Linked DNA regions of Homo sapiens: region 2 is linked to region 1. Evidence: promoter capture Hi-C in 16 types of primary human blood cells and fetal thymus (Javierre and others, 2016). All regions are on one chromosome and are shown on one strand. The core of a region is centred on a gene start or on the middle of the fragment in contact, and the rest is flanking DNA. Distances in the headings are between cores, read along the strand shown.

Region 1 (2,700 bases), core at 32-2,531:
CAGAAAGGGAAAAAAAAGGATTAGGAAGATACTATACTTTGTATATGATGGCCAATTATACGCCCAACAAGTTTTATAATTTAGAATAAATGAACAAATTTCTGGTACATACAAACTACCAGAACTGACTTGGGAATAAATACAGCACGAATTCATAATCCAAACTAAGGCCTAGGACCATTTAAAAAATTTACATCAATCCTCGAATGTGTCCAAAAACACAGAAGAAAAAGGGACACTACACAGTTCATTCTGTGAAGCCGGGATTATATTGATCCTAAAGTCAAAGTCATCACACGATACAAGCCAATATATCTTAACACAGATGCTAAGATTCTAAACATAATAGTACACACACAACAAATCCAGTAAATTAAATGATTGTATACCATAATCAAATGGAATTTGTCTTGAAATAATTTGACCTCCACAGCCAGTCCATTTGAGACATTCGGTTAAGCCATGATTTATTATAAGATTCAGATGCTTAGTCTCACTCCTTCCTATGTATATTTACTTTCCATTTCCTGTATATATTTACTGTCTACTTTTTGTCAGTATTCCGCTGGGTGCTAGCAATTGTAAGCAACAGATGCGGCCTCTGTACTTACATGCTTTACTGTGAGGTGGTGAGGTAGAGAAGATAAGACTGAAAAAAATAGGCCGGGCGCGGTGGCTCACTACTGCAATCCCAGGAATTTGGGCGGCAGAGGCGGGAGGATCACTAGGTCAGGGGTTTGAGAGCCTGGCCAACATGGTGAAACCCCATCTCTACTAAAAATACAAAAATTAGACGGGCAGATCGCGCCCCTGCACTCCAGCATGGGCAACAAGAGCGAAACTTCGTTGTCAAAAAAAAAAAAAAAAAAGAGAGAAAAGTGATAAACATTCTGAACATAGAGGGCCTTGTCCTAAGCCAGTCCTCCAAATTCACTGTATAAGAGTAAGGGCTCTCTTAAAATTTAGGCGTTTACAGTTAAATGACCCACGAACTTCTGAAACTGGAAGACCGTTTTTTAGCAAAGGAGAATACTCCAGGGCCCCGCCCATTTCATCCTTGACTCCACCTTCTCCATGCTGAGTCCCGCCCCGCTTCCTGTTTATTCATCCTGCAGCAAACTCTCCGGTATCCTGATGGAGTCTACTAGGTGTCAGTCATTTGGCCGTGCCTCAGCCGAAGAGAGGCGGGGAAAAGCATCGTAATCAGCTGCGTCGCCTTTTGGTGACGCCAGAGAGTGCGCGTCAGCAGTTTATTAGAGAGCTCTGTAGCCAGCCTCTTCTGCGCACCCACCTGCTGCATCTTAGTTCAGTCGGCTCTTAGAGTAGTAACCGCCAGAAAGGAGTCGGAAGAGGTCTCACGAGGCTGTCATCACCGCCATGCCCAAGAATAAAGGTACTGCTGTAAGCCTCTGGGACTATACCTCGGCTTGCTCTGCCAGTAACCCCGACGCCTGTTCCAGGCCGCAGTGACTGTTCTAACGGCGGTACTGGCCACTGCGACCCCAGCACTGTGTTCGGGAAAGGAGCTGGGAATGCCCTATTTGGTCACATTGGGGTGGGACAGACGCCATTTTTGTGGGGCCTCCTTCGGAAGATAGCGGGCTTTTGCTGCTGATTTCACGCCAGACGGAAAACGTATAGGTAGGGACGGTTGAGGGACCTTAACCGGACGGCCTGGCTTTCCAGAATAGGCACATGCAAACACTTCCCTGCTACTTTCCTGGAAGCGGTTCTTAACTTTGAAGACTTACCTATCTGGACAGTTAAAAGTATTGCTAAGGATACTCCCTTTTCCTTGTTAAACAGTGGGGAAGCCTTGAAGCATGTTTAGGTTCATTTCTGGCGTTTTACTCTACCCCATCCCTTTATAGAGTGTAACATTCTTTTGCAGAAGATTTGTTACCTATTTAGGCAGGTTTTCAACTTCCGTATCCGATAAATATTGTGGGAGTAAAGATATCAACGTTCCCTTCATTCTGAGGCTAAACTTTCACACGAAACTTAGACTTGAAAATAAGTTTACTCACAGCTTCTAAAGTAGGAGGTCTAACCTCGGTAGAACCCTTTCTCAGTCATTTCTGAAAGAAATTCTCGTTTTTATACACCTGAGGTAATCTCTCACTTTTAGTGCCCTTGTAATTGCTTGAAGAAAACTGTAGGTGGAAACAAAATATTATTTTCCACAGGAGGGGACCATGTTTTATAGTCCACAAAAACTCTGTTTAGATTATTCCTTCCTGGGACCCAGACCAATTTGTCTTCTTTTTACTTGCCTGTTGGCAGCATGGAATCTGTTTCATTTTCTCTTTTTAGCTGTCACGACACACAGCTCTTGAGGTACTTGGTGACAGTACAGTGCAGTCTTTCCTGGGCATTACTCTTTGCTCTCCCGAAAACCCACTAACGGGTTGTGTGTATAATAAGGTTTTATTTTATTTTATTTTATTTTTTACTGCAAAATTATTGGAGGATAAAGTGTATTCTGGGAGAAGTCTAATTAGAAAGAGTTAGCAAAGGCTTATGCTTTTTCACTAACATTTTCTCAGATGGTACTGAACAACTTCAGTAGGTATCTTGTTCTCACCTTTATTTCTAGTGATGAGATTCCCAGTTCTCTAAGCCATCAGCTCTAAAGATCAGAGTATCTCCCTTTGCAAAATGTCCATTAAATCTTTGCTGATGTTATTATCCCTGTACCTG
Region 2 (3,084 bases), core at 132-2,631, 560 kb after region 1:
ACTGTGTGCTTGCCTGGAGGCATACCCACAGCTACATAAGATAAGGGGAGTTGCACACACAGGTTTACTGATAAGAGAAGTTACTCAAACTGCTACAGACATGAGAGGAGTTTCTTATAAAAGCTTTCGAATTCAGATGTAACCCAGCAATGCACTCAGACTCCTCTCTGCTGTGGAGAGCTTTTTTTTTTTTTTTTCATATTAAACTTTCACTCCAACTTTATCTTTGTGTTTACAATTCTTAATTTTTTTGTCTTGGATAAAGAACAAAAAACCTGGAGTACTTCTTCAGACAACAAGAAACTTCCAAATTAAGGTGCATTGGCAAGAATGCAACATATTTTGATCCATTGGCTTGGAAGGAGGGAATTCATCAGAAGGGTGAGTAAGAGCCGACTTTTACCTTTAACTATTTACATTCATCTATGAGTCTTCTCATCTATTCCAATCTAGTTTCCTTTCACAGAGGACCTAAGCCAACATGTGGGATTGGAAGAAGGTCCTAGGAAAATTCAAGATTTCTGGCTGGGACTAACCCTCAGTGTTATCTGAAGGTCCTCAGTGTTATCTGAAGACTACTCCAATCCTTGACAGCCCACCAGTGTGTCAGCACAAGGACCTTCCCTCTTACATTTTCCTTCTTTTCTCCCATGGCTATTATGTCACCTATCTCTTCATTGTATACAATGTTGCAGGTGTTTTTTCAGCCTAGAGATATAATCTTGCTTGGTAGAGTAAGTTGGTGTCTTTTTTTGTAACCAGGAATGTAACTTCAAGAAACTGTGTTTTTGTGATTTCCTCGAGACAGAGGAGTTCAAGATTTCTGTCTAAGTATTCACTTAGTAAGGTCTCTTCTACCCCTCAATAATAGACATTCATGACACTATATGGTCAAATATTTCACCCCAAGTGAATATCCTCTTTTCTCTCCATTTGGATTGTTTCTTCCCTCTACATTTGGGTTGGTTTTTCCCTCCCCATTTGGGTTGGTTTTTCCCTCCATGTAAAATCCCAGCATTGCCCAATAAATTTAAACAATTCTTTATGAAACAAGTTAATTTTCTTGTGCTGGGAGGAATATTATAGGAACAGCCAATTAAACTGAAACCTCTTTTTCTAACTTCTGCCTGAAAGGATGGAGTCACAGTTTTTACCTAATATTTCAGACCCTACAGCACTACGTAGGGGAATGGGATTTATTTTTCCCCACTGGGAGCCTTGTTGGCCCTTTGTCTAAAAACTCTGGTTATCTCCCTTTTATATCCCTCTATTAGAGACTAGGCTTCATGCCCCATTTGAAAACAGCAAAGCTCCAGCTTTAACAGTAAGAGGACGGCCATTCCATTTATATGTTCTTTTAAGGCACCTGTTCTACATTCAGCTACATTGGCATTTACACCAGAAATGGGTTTTATGTTTGAAAGTGAATCAGTCTCATTCTTTGGGGTTTCAATGTTTCACTAGGGCCATAGCAAGGGAAACCAAAGATAATACTAAAACACTTCCTCCATTAAGGAGGGAAGTCCAGCAGATGCCCAGATGCAACTGTCACATAGTCTTTCCTGAGACCCATCCATCAAGGAGTGACCCAGACCCAAGTCTACGAGGTCAAAGAATAATCACCATCAGAGGACTAAAGCCACTTGGGTGAGCATGGCTTGCCCCATTGCTTAGCTCCTCTGCTACCATCATTTGAAGGTCACACTTGAAACCACTGGTGGCATATTCAACACAATGCTGGGACCCAGGAGCCAAGGAGAAATAACAGTCTGTGGGACACTCCTACTGTCTTCTTCTCCTCCCTGGGTCACACTGAAAAAAAGCAGGAGACAGAGGGATGCCTCTTTTCTTGTCTATTTTTCTAGAGAGGTGACAGTCCAACTTTAATCTGCACCCCTCTGAGTGCACTCTGAAACTTTTAGAACTACTTTGACCCGATGACTTTGAAGAAAAAGGTGACCATTTTCTTTTGCACGAGAGCATGACATTTTTTACTAAACCTTCACAAGCATTATGAGATCAACCCAGCTTTTTTAACAGTCATGGCAGGTAGTCCCATGGAGAATAATTCCGCAGAGTTAGAAAAGCAATTTCTAAAGAAACCATCTCAGAATGCCCCTTATTAATCACCACCTCAAGTTTTCTTTTCATTGCAGGAACTTACACAAATAAAGGGGGAACTAGGTAGGTTCTCTGATGACCCTAATAAACATAGAGAGGTTTTCCAAAATTTGACCCAAATGTTTCATGTTACATGGAGAGATGCTATGCTACATTTAAGCCAAAACCCTAACTGTTACAGAAAAGCAGGCAGTCTTGCAGGCAGCAGAAACATTTGGAGATAAACAGCGTAACTCCTATAGCCAGTCTAAAAATCTTGAAAGGAAAAAATCTAAGGGATAAAAGAGGATAAGGAGAGACAGGGTCCCCATTCCCAATAGTAAGAAAAATGAGGCTCCCTTAAAAGCCCTAATTGGAGCCTGAGTGATCTCATAAATGAGTGGAAATTAAAAGAATTTCTGATATACATTTAAAAAGACTTGGAAATAAGCAGAACAAGACCTCTTAATTACTCTCAACTGTATGAGTTGCACCAGAAAATATATGGAAATCCACCTGCCTTCTTGGAGAGACTGAGAGAAGCTTTAGTAAGACACACTTCCCTGTCTTCCAGTTCAGTAAAAAACAGGTTCAATACTCAGGCAGCCCCTGATATCAGAAGAAAGTTGCTGAAATAGGCCCTGTCTAAAAATCTTTCTAGTTTTTCTCACCAAACAATCCCACATTCCTAAGCCCTCTCCACTGTACTGTCTCATTCACAATCTTGCAAAACTTGACAGAAGCATTTAGTCTTTTACTGTAACATGGCCTGGTCCCAATACACATTAGATAATGACAGTCGATGGCCCAAAAATCATACCTTTGACTTGCAAATTCTCAGGAAGCTTAACAACTTTACAGCGAGGGATGGCAAATGGCAACTGGTTCTCTATATTCAGGCTTTCTTTGATGTCTACCTTAAATGTAACCTTCCACTGTGTCAAGCTTGCACTGCTCATAAAATCTTTCTTTTTAATAAAAATC

Evidence for each region. The method cuts DNA at HindIII sites, captures the fragments that hold promoters and counts their contacts. A CHiCAGO score of 5 or more calls a contact.
Region 2: a contact is called between a fragment that was not itself captured here and the fragment with the promoter of EIF1AY in region 1, in 2 of 17 cell types (naive CD4 T cells and neutrophils). The highest score is 5.8, in naive CD4 T cells.

What each region holds. Positions count from the first base shown.
Region 1 is chrY:20,574,495-20,577,194 of GRCh38, forward strand. It overlaps EIF1AY (eukaryotic translation initiation factor 1A Y-linked), which reads left to right and starts at 1,282. Exons shown (of 7, transcript NM_004681.4): 1 at 1,282-1,393. The coding sequence starts at 1,378. It overlaps TTTY10 (testis expressed transcript, Y-linked 10), which reads right to left and starts at 1,021. Exons shown (of 10, transcript NR_197944.1): 1 at 612-1,021. The HindIII fragment of the contact is 11,947 bases long and covers 1-2,700 here.
Region 2 is chrY:21,138,488-21,141,571 of GRCh38, forward strand. It overlaps LOC105377225 (a long non-coding RNA gene), which reads left to right and starts at 146. Exons shown (of 7, transcript XR_007068465.1): 1 at 146-381. The HindIII fragment of the contact is 2,520 bases long and covers 122-2,641 here.